Regions from separate parts of the Homo sapiens genome. Here region 1 is linked to region 2. The links are contacts of gene promoters, found by promoter capture Hi-C in blood cells and fetal thymus (Javierre and others, 2016). All regions are on one chromosome and are shown on one strand. Each heading gives the region's core, a stretch centred on a gene start or on the middle of the fragment in contact. The rest is flanking DNA. Distances are from core to core; before and after follow the strand shown.

Region 1 (5,241 bases), core at 1,909-4,408, 1.0 Mb after region 2:
TAAAAATAGAAAATGCAGGACCAGAGATCACACTAAAAATTCAGTTTAGTAAAGACACAAAAACTGCCTGTGACAGTAGAAGATACTTTTTGGCCTTGCTATCCATAACAGAGAGAAATGAAACTATATACTAAAATCTTTTTATGAGTAGGCAAAAAGCTTGTCAGTCTTTACAAAACACCATGGAGCTGATGTCTGTTTCTTGTGCATTTGCTTTCCACTGACTGACACAATGCTTCTCTGATCCATTGGTTTTGTTTACAATTATACACTTTTAAAAAATATGAAGAATCAGCAGAGATCAGCAGGAAATGAATAGCTACGCAATTACTCCAAAATTATAAAAGTACAGTCATCATAAGGTACTCTTGCTACTCTCTACCTCTGCCCTTTTTCTAAGTAATGAATTGTCTAATTTTGAAATTATCAGAACATCACAGGAGAATGCGGAAGCACATTCAAACGACGTGATTTCCCTGAGTTAGTGTCTAGAAATGACCAGTTGTAATAAATAAGATTTAGCAAAGATCAGATAGGATAGAAGAAAAGTTATAGGTCAGTGAGTGAAGGCTTTGGTTTTTCCACATATACATTTTAATTCTGTGGGATCTCTAAATTTCCATTTAGGGTTAGAAGGTGGTAAAGATAGCCACGTCTAGAACCATGTCTAATCGATACCTTATAAGGGTAGGTGGCCAAAAATATACCTTGAATGGGCTGTACAGCCTTTGCTATCAAGTCCCATGTCTGCCCACATTTTTAGAATGCAGCCTAGGTGATGGCACGATGTATGCGATAGAATAAGCCTCAGTTCCAGGATTGGCTCTACTGCTCACTAGCTGGGTAACCTCTAAAGTATAAAATCTCTCAACTGGAAAAAGAGAATAATAACATTTTTCTTACCTCCCTGTTGTACAATCAATGAGATCATGAAGGCAGAAGTGTTGGGAAAATTTAAAATACAGAAACACGTAGATATTGCTACAGGTATTACACTTTAGTACAAAGGTAACCAAATTGCCTTTATTATGTTATCTGTCTACCTAACCTCCATCACTATTTCATCTAGGACTTCCCTGGCTGCTGAAAGTTTCCTGATTTTGTCTCCCAACAGTTCAGAAATACTAAATATCATAGCAATTTTGTTTTTCTTTGGCAGCCAGTGATATTTACCTGACCTTTATCCCAACTTCATGAGTATCACCTGTATCAAAGTGCTGACTACAAGTTTTTGGAATCAACTATTTTACTCAGCATCTTTTGGTAACTCTGGTATGACTATCTTGTTACTATATTTAGGGTACCTCTTGCTTTTTTTTTAAAATCACGAGTATATTTTCTTCTCAATGACATATATTGGATCATTAAGGGAGAAACTAAAAAAAATGTTTGTTGGAGAAATGTTTAGTCAATGATCCCAAAGATACACACACACACACACACACACACACACACACACACACACAAGAATGCCCTTTTCAATTAATACTAGTATTAACTATTGTTGTGTGGTAAAACAAGTAATTTACAGTTGATTCCAGAAACCTGTAGTCAGTTAATATAATTAAAATTTAAAAATCATGATAAAGATCATACATATTGATTATAATAATGTATTATTGTTGGATTTTTAAAATCAAAGACTTTCTGTAATATCAAAATAATTTAAAAGGCACTGTTTTTCAAAAATGTGCTTCTCTTTATTTCTTAATCCTTACAGTATTTTCCTGGGAATTCGGCAAACCTTGTAAAACTGAACAAAATTAGGATTTTGTGCTTCTATGTTTACAGAAGGAGCATATCAAGCTGACTTGAAAATCTTAAAAAAAATAAAAGAAAAAAAGAAAGAACCGTTCTTATTTCAAAGGCTAAGAAAATAAAGGTTATTTACCATACAGAACTAGACTTCTTGTTAAGTTGTTTTTGAGACAGCAAATTAGAAAAACATGGCCAGAGTTAGAGGTTACTCAATCAGGTTGAGGCTGGGACTCTATTCCAGCAGCTCCTATTCCCCAAATTATATCTGATAATGCTCTAAAGTCTAAACATATTTTAGTTCAAAAAGATACTTGGCTCTTAGATAGAAAATGGCACTAAGCTTCCAAAAATCAACAGGTTTACCCACCCTCTTCAAATGATGTCTTTGTATTCAGAGTAATCTGCCACTCAGTACCTCTGAATTGTTAACATTTGAGGAACTGCAATTTTGAGCTGAAATGTTTGTTTTTTATTTGCCTGTGCATAATCACAGGATAGGAGCATTAATAAAGGGGTTGGTGTATTGGCCTATGCTGAGGCCTATTATTTAGGCAGAGTCATGGCAACAGAGCAATGCTGAACGTGTACAAGGGTACCATAATTTCAGCCTGTATTGTGTCAAGGGGAAGAGAAGACGTGTCCGCAGAGAGAAGGAATGAAAAATACAAACATATTTGAAATTATCTCTGCATTTTCAAACCAGAAACAGCATCTATATTTCCCAGCAACTCAAGAAATACGAGTGGTAAGTCTTGCCCCATGCCAGCTACAAAAGTATTATCTGTTAAGTAGTATGGCGCCCATAAACTTAAAGTCAGCAAAATCCATTGAACTGCATTTCCAAGAGAGTAGGAGACTTGAAATGGTAGTGCTCTGAGGATGTCCACGTGGGTGGGCAAGCATATGTTGCTTTTAAGCAGAGGAAGTGGTACACCACGATTTCTTCATAAGTGCGAGGTCTTTATAAACTCATCCTCATGGGGGCTGTTTTAAATAGAAAGAAAATGACACACAGTCCCTAACCAAGCTTCCTAACTGTTTGGGGAGGGTTGCCACTTTCCCAAAACATTAGGTTACTGTGGGGGAATTTTCCAAAATTGTCAACAATTTCATTTTTAAACTGAGTTCTTCCTCTCAGCATAAGACAGATGCAATGCAGCACAAACTATATTTGGTCTAGCAGGAGATGTAAGTTATTTTTACTACGCTGACTCCTACCTGACAGTGGAAGACGTATTCTGGTGTGGTTTTCTTAAACTTCATGTTCCAAACCAAGGCCACTCCATCTGGTTCATGGGGAGCATCTTCATTGTTGTTGTAAGAAGCCACCATCAGCTCAGGGTACTAAATGGAAGAGGTCACAAGGATGAATTATGCTAAGATGACAACACAAGGAAAACTTTGTTATTCCTACATACACGTGGTATACTACACAGTGTAAATGGTGCTTTCTGTTATGTTGTGGCATACCTACTATCAGCTTACTGCTGCAACCTCCTGCAATCTTGTTTCTGCCTCCAACACTCTGTATGCGCTTGTCATACTCACCGGTAACTATCAAACTACAAACATCGCTTTACCTCTCCGTATTATTTGACACTTTGTGCTACTCCCTTCCTCTCCTGTATTGGCTTCCATTACATCTTTCTCTCCTGATTTTCTTCCCTGACTTCTCTTTTCAGTTCCTGCAGGTTCTCCTTCTATTACATAAATTCCAAGGAGGGCTATTCTCGCTGAGTAAGTTCATCTACTCCAGTGGCTTTAATAAGCTTAACATGCTGGTAATTTTCAAATCTATATCTCTAGGCTTAATTTCTCTCTGAGATGCAGGTCTTTATATCTGACTGCCTACTGGGGATTTCTCAGGGCTGTCCATAGACCCATCAATTGTAACACATAGAAAAATGATCTCATTGACTTCCACACGAAACCTACTGCTCCTCCATGTTCCCTATTTTAGGGTCTTGCACTAACATTCGCCTGGCCCAGGCCAGCCATTCTACATTATTTATTTATTTATTTATTTATTTATTTATTTATTTTTTGAGATGGAGTCTCGCTCTGTTGCCCAGGCTGGAGTGCAGTGGCCTGATCTTGGCTCACTACAAGCTCCACCTCAGGGGTTCACGCCATTCTCCTGCCTCAGCCTCCTGAGTAGCTGGGACTACAGGCGCCGGCCACCACGCCTGGCTAATTTTTTGTATTTTTAGTAGAGACGGGGTTTCACCGTGTTAGCCAGGATGGTCTCGATCTCCTGACCTCGTGATCCACCAGCCTCGGCCTCTCAAAGTGCTGGGATTACAGGCGTGAGCCACCATGCCTGGCCCATTTATTTTTACTTCTTTCTCTCTCTCACTCCCACACACTAAATTTCCCTATTTCCTCAATACCTTTCAAATGAATATTTTCTTTCTATCTTTAAGGTCAGAGCCTGCTAAATTAATTTCTTATCTGGATGAAGGCAGCAGCTTCATAAATGGCTTCCTATACTGACCTACTCCATTCTCCATCCTTTATCAGGAAGACTTTACAAAATATGTATTTGGCTAAGTCATTCCTCAGCTTAAAATACTTTAATGGCTCATCATTACTTTCAAGGCAAAATGCAGGTCACAGAGGATCCTTAATAATCTGTCATTTTTTGCCTTTCCTGCTTACTCTCCTACAACCTTCCCTCTTTCTCCCCACCTCCCACAGCCTATGACCCAGCCTCACTGGACTAGTTTTGAGGCACACAGGTACATCTCTGTACCTATGAGTCTCATACTCACTCTCACTGGGATGACCCTTTGGTGTTGTTTACATAATTAACTCATCCTTTAAGACTCAACACAGGCATCAAGTCCTCCAGACAATCCTGACTTAACCAACCACTTCCTTCCTTGCCTGTTATCAGCTCCCTTTGTATCATGTGTCTGTCCTGCCAATTAAAGCCCTTGTCAAATGCATTATAATTTTTTTTCTACACCTGTGTCTTTCACTCGATTGCAAGCTCTTTGAGAGTAGGGACTGGTTTTTGTTGACCTCTGAATCCAGGGTCAATTCCTAGCATATAATAAACTTGTGCCAAAATTTCTTTAATTATTTAAAATTTTTAATTTTAGTAATTCTGTGCTCAATAGAAAGGCTTTATATATCATCCTTTGTTGTCAAACAATGCTAATAATTAAAGGCTTAAATGCCAGAAACATAACCAGTAAAATAACAAGAAGGACTCTATAGTGATTCTAGGTATTAGAAAGACCTACTCACCCTACAAAAACTCTGTCCTGAGTGTTACTAAATAAACTGAGGATAAATCTCATAGGAAGTACTTATGAGTTAGGACACATTTCATGAAAATGTCATTCCTACATAGGAGTCTCAAAAGGCAGTCCTATTAAAAATAGTATCAGGATTATGGCAGACCGTATCACTCTCTTCTTATAATTTAATTTTTTCCTCCTTTTTCATTATTCTATACATATATTTAATGGAAGATTG
Region 2 (5,550 bases), core at 89-2,588:
GCTTCCCTCCGAGTCACTGAGGAGCACGGGGCGCCCCACGCAAAGTAGGCCACTGCCTGCCCAGCGTGGGCTGGGAAGCAAAACACGCTCCCCAGTTCCGGCCCAGAAATGTCCCCAGCCGGGTCAAACGTGGGTTACAGCCTGGAGGGAAGGAGCAAGGAAAAGGGCGCACAGACCCAGGAGGCTGGAGAGCGCAGTGTGGACTAACTCGTCGAACGAAGCCTGCGCCGGGCCCGGGACTCAGCCCGAACTGCGCGTCGGAAGCTGAGGGTCCGCGGCGGCGGGAAGGGGCCCGGCTGGGAGAGGCCGGCAGGCAGGCGCCAGGCGAGCGGGCGCGCACGGGGCCCGGCCAAGGGCGCGCGGGGCCGCCTGGGGGAGGGGGCCGGCGGAGGCCCGGGCGTCGAGGAAGTGAGCGGGCGGGCGGGGTAGGGGGCAGTCGGGAGGCGGGAGAAGCGAGCTGCCCCAGCGGCCTCTCACCTGTGTCGTCCCCTCGCGTCTGGGCGGCTGCGCTGCTGTTGTGGTAGGACTGGAGGTAAGGGCTGTGCTGCGAGTGGCTCATGTAGGGGTAGGCGGCGAGCGAGCGGTGGTTGTAGGAGTTCCCTCCGCCCGACGCGTAGGGCGAGCCGTGGTGGTGGTGCTGGTGGTGGTGGTGGTGGTGCGAGCCGGCCGCTGCCGCCGCCGCCGCCGAGTGCAGGCAGTGCAGAGGGTAGTGCGCGCCTGCCATGGCCGGGGAGCTCTGCTGCGAGTGCGGCTGCGGCGGCGGCGGCGGCGGCGGCGGCGGCTGTTGCTGTTGCTGCTGCTGCTGCTGCTGCTGTTGCTGCTGCTGCTGCTGCTGCTGCCCGAACTCCATGAAGGCGGATTTGGACGAGTCCTGGCCTTCCAAGCCGTCAGCCATCGTAGTCATGGTCATCATCAAAAACTTTGGGGGCTGGAGAAAGCCTTCTCCCGGGTTTCCTCCACCCTCCCCCACTTGGCTCGCGCCGCTCTCCCCTCTGCAGCCACCTTAGCTCTTTGGATCCTTGCAAAAAAAAAAAAAAAAAAAAAAAAGAATTTAAAGAGGGGGGTGGAGGTGGTTCTCCCTCTCCCTCGCTCTTCTCTAATATATATATATATTTAATATAAAGAGATATAGTGAGCGGGGCCTTGTTAACTCAAAGGGAGGAGGAAGGAGGAGGGATGGGAGAGGAGAGGGGGAGGGGGGAATCTGCTCTCCCCCCGCCTGCTTTCCCCCCTTGGATTTTTTGGGGGCTGGTGCAGTTTAAGGCAGAGATTTTAAGGTGGATTCTGCGAAAGTTGCGCGTCTGCTTTCAGACTTGATGCAGACGCCACGAGTCGAATGGTTTGTCTCCAAAGGGCAGTGCCTCCCCATTGGTCAGTCGCCCCCTGACGTCACAGGCGCACGGCTTCTACTGGCGTGTGCGCGACTTGCAGAGTTCTTCGCCTACCTTCCGCAGTTCCAATCCCAGCCGGAGCTGCAGCCGGGGGCCGCGCTGTGTGGCGCCCGGGGCCGTTGGGGAGGGAGGCGCCTCTGCCCGGCCGGCCGCCGATGCTTCCCGCCGCAGCTCGTGCCCCAAATCCCGGAGCCCCAGTTGCCAATATCTCAGCCTTGAAACAGCCAACTGGGGGCTGCTCTCTTTCAATCCCTTTGCACCCTTGTAGGTTGCCTGTGCTTAGAAGCAGTGACCCCACCCCCGCATTAAATCCAGGCCCCCCTTTCTTGACGTCCCTGCCACTCTGGTCCTACTACACTCTTGTGGGAGCTCCTTGTCACCGTGGATTTTTCTAGACGTATTTTATTGAAACCACAGAAGGAAGACGAACCCTCACACCTGGGCTCCACCCCACTGGGGGGTGGTACAGAAAAAGAAAAATCAGACCCTGTTCTGGCTCGGTCCCTGCCGTTTCAGGCCGTATTTCTTATATATTGTACAAAAGGTTGTGGGGGGGGGGGGCGTCTTTTTTTTCTTTTCAGAACGCAGCAGCGTGTTCTGAAAACGAATCGTTGGAGGACTGACAGTAATGCATTTTTTCCTATTGAAAACAGAAGCTACTGTAATGCTTTCAAATATATGCAAATGATACATGCGGTTAGTGGTTTGGCAAATCTTGATTACAATATAAACTACCCAAGTAAAAGTGCCTTCGTCCTAAATTTGTCTCTCGATTACAATTCCAATTGATTTTATTTTATTGTCAACATTGTTAATGATAAAAATAGAGTCGTTTTACAGTTATTTTTACTTTCTGGAAGGAGGCAATTAGAGTTCTAATCAGGAATACACAAAAATCTCCCATGATTAACTGCAGTACTTTGTTCAAATTGCTGCTATAAAATTCAGAACAATTTGCCTGTAATGATTATGGACTGGGTTTATTTTGGGAGGTGGAATAAAAGTGGATATAGCATAAATTATCCTCTAATTATACACCAGTGTCGCCTCAATTATCCTCTTATCAAAATGGTTGTCTAACTGCCGCATTTAGTTTCAATTCTCTCCTTTTTTTCTATAAAAAGAACTTCATACCTTGTTATTATTAATCCATTTATTATTTGCAAGGGGATTTATATCCGCACATCCAGGTGGTAGAACCACTTCTCTTTCAAAGATGGACTGGGGAAAGACATTAAGTTCGGAGCAGCCCAAGGCTGCGGATCTAGCCTTTCTCCCTCCGGTCTCCAGACCCACGCAGGTTAAGGCAGCCAAGCAGAGACAGCGGAGCCCCGGTGCGTGGTTCAGGCCTGGTCAACAGGTAGGAGGGCCAGACTGGGGGCCAGGCACAGAGGAGGGCAGGCCCGCCCGCACCGGCGTCCAGGGTCCCGGGTTCCGGGTCCCGGGACTGGAGGAGGTCGCCGGCAGCCCGCCCTTCCAGAGGCTTGAGATTGGGTGGACGAGACCTGAAGATCCTCTCGGTCTGGACCCCGACTTTCGATCTGCTTAGAGACCTAAGCCGCGAGCCTTTGCCCACACGGAGAAACGTACTATCTAATATCTAACAACCCTGTACTGCAGTGTCTGGAGGTTGCGGGAAGGAGACAGTGTCTCCCTTTGGGAAAACTACTGAGGACTTCTGTATATCCTACTTCTTCTGGACTCCATAAGTTACAGGACCGAAGGAAACTGAGAAATAGAGAAAAGGTGCCGCTTGCCCCTTTAACTCCAGAAAAGGGTGGCTGCAGATGGAGCAGCTTGGACTTTATTTTTTACGTTGCGCGAAGCCCGCCGGCAGCGGCTTATGCCAATTGATTTTCCCAGCTCCCAGCCCTGGATGTCTAGCTATCTCCAGGACAGTTTGTTTTTTTCTTTTTCTGTCTTTCTTTCTTTCCTTCAATGTATCAGAAGACCTGAAGCTCGCTGCCCGCGAGTTTCCTCCGAGTTCCCAGGTCAGCGGCGTTTGCGCTCCTCTCCCCCTCCTTTTCCCAGCCCGTTGCGCTTAAGTTCTTGAGTCTGGGGAGCCGGTTCAGTAACTCTGAATTCATTTTTAAGTGGCGTGCCCTGTTCCCCACCTTTTAACAAGAGGTGCACTTTAACACGCGAACCAGTAACACGATCTACACGTTTACAAATCGGCAATGAATTAAAACAACAACAGAAAAGCTTCATGGAAAAAGAAAGGTGGGCTAAGTAAGGGGGAGATGTGGGGGGTGGGGGACAGAAGGGAATGTCAGGAAAAGAGAAGATTTCCCACCCCACCTTCCCACTCCCAACCCTAGTGCGCTCTCGGTACACGCGGGCTGCGCGCCGAGACTGTTTGTAATGTCCTCAATACCAGCAGGTAGACGTGGCAGTTTTATTGCTTTATACCCTGCAGCTTGTTGTTAACACCGTGAAGGCGTTTCACCCCCTACACCCTCACCCTGTGCTTGTCTATGTTTTTCGCTTTATGCTCACAGGTGCACCGCTTTCCTCGCCAGCTTCCTGCAACTCTGGCTGCACCCCAATTAGAGTATGTCGTGGCAGGGCCTCGGAAGGTCCCTGCAATTGAGCACTGTATCCAGAGTGCAGCTGCCTCTACTTGCAAGGGGATTTTTTTTTCTCATTTGTTTGATTGCTGAGGAAGCCGGGAAGGCTGGGATTGTCCGGGTTGTAGCTTCAGGGCTCTCAACCTTCCCCTAATAGTTAGTGGCTAAAATCCTTGCACTCTGTTCCAGTGAAGCAGCTGCACTGAGGTGGTAGTTGTGGTGCATGGTAAAGGTCCTGCTGAAACCTGCTGGGCGACCCAGTCTGAGCTCAGAGACAGTCAGGGGCTGGGAAGTGGAACGAGCGAGAGGTCCCACTTGGTGTGATATCTCTGCGCTTGCGGGATGGAATCTAAACTTCAGGCCTGACTATCAGACTTTCCTGCCAGTATCGAGAATGGAAAACTGGAGATAGTGTGACCCGCACACAACATGCCAAGGTGGCGCGCCACGAGTGGCTGCCAGGTGTGGCCTCTGCCACCGGCCACGGCGCATAGAGTTCGCGGCTCAGAGGCTATTTACCGCAGGGCCTCTTCCGACAGTCATTTCTCTCCAATTGAACGCGGCAGATTGGCTTCCCAGTCCTTCATTCCGTTTTCATGGGTGACGGTAATGAGCTGAAGTAAGGCGGTTGGAGTCACTCTTGTTTGCACTAGTCCAGCCCGCACTTCCAACCCTTCAGCAAGGGGCAAAAACTCGGGTTCTTTGGGGCCTTGCAGGAAGGCGCACACCTCAGGGGCTCAAGGCCCCGGCGCCGGGTTAGGCGCCAGCCGGGTCCTGGCTCCTGCTTCTTTGTCTCGCCCGCAGGGGAACGCGGGCCAACCCTTGCGGGTGGGAGGAGGAGGGCGGGCAAGGCCCTCGAAGTCTTTATCATTCAAAATAAAAGTAAACCCTGCAATCTGGAGTAGGAGCCCTAAGGCTCTTTTAGGGCTTGTAGTAAGTGAGGGTCATATTCACTAGGCAGGATTTGAGGCCTAAGCTGCTTTTTGCTTTTTAAGGTGTTGAGATGTTGGAATTTGTATTGCGAGTGTCAATGTTATTTAGAGAGAAATGCTTGTGTATTGCCAACACAAGACCTCCCGGGTCTGCCGGAGGCCACTGTTGGAGGAATGGGCTCTTGGGTCAAAGAATCTCCTGCTGTTCCTGGTCTGGACCGGTGTTTGCTCACGCATGTAGGCCTGGAAATGCTTTGGGGTGCCCGAAGTGGTTTTGCAGCCTCACGGGCTGTAGAAGTACATTCAAACCAGGCAGGACCTGGATGGGTTTGGTTGCTAAGTTGAGCTCAGTTATCACTTTAATTCTAAAGAAATTAGACCTGGATAAATAGCCTTTGAATTCAAAGAAATTACTCAGTATTGACTTACATAGCCCCTTCTCAACGGGAGACATTGGTGAAGAAAAAAAAAACTTGCTAGTCTTTTCCTCATTCAATATACTGTAAAACTCTGTTTGTGTATGTATGTAAGGAAAGGGTGCCTGATATCCTGGTAACCCGCACGACTTTCTCCCCTCCCCCAACACACAGACAACAGTGAAAGCTCTGGGGCACATGGGAGCTGCCTCTTGCCAGTGATGGCATCTTCAGGAGTTGC

The links. Contacts are between HindIII fragments. The CHiCAGO score rates a contact against its expected background, and 5 or more counts as called.
Region 1: a contact is called between a fragment that was not itself captured here and the fragment with the promoter of DLX6 in region 2, in 8 of 17 cell types (naive B cells, non-activated CD4 T cells, endothelial precursors and 5 more). The highest score is 7.2, in naive B cells.

The regions. Positions count from the first base shown.
Region 1 is chr7:95,993,809-95,999,049 of GRCh38, reverse strand. It overlaps DYNC1I1 (dynein cytoplasmic 1 intermediate chain 1), which reads right to left. Exons shown (of 17, transcript NM_001135556.2): 10 at 2,977-3,102. Among named protein-coding and RNA genes, the nearest start is that of MIR591, 220 kb to the left of the region's middle. The HindIII fragment of the contact is 742 bases long and covers 2,788-3,529 here.
Region 2 is chr7:97,001,341-97,006,890 of GRCh38, reverse strand. DLX6 (distal-less homeobox 6) reads right to left here and starts at 1,338. Exons shown (of 3, transcript NM_005222.4): 1 at 478-1,338. The coding sequence starts at 913. All of the region lies in intron 1 of DLX6-AS1 (DLX6 antisense RNA 1), which reads left to right. RefSeq lists a silencer at 488-587 and enhancers at 1,900-2,621, 4,651-5,360. The HindIII fragment of the contact is 12,379 bases long and covers 1-3,598 here.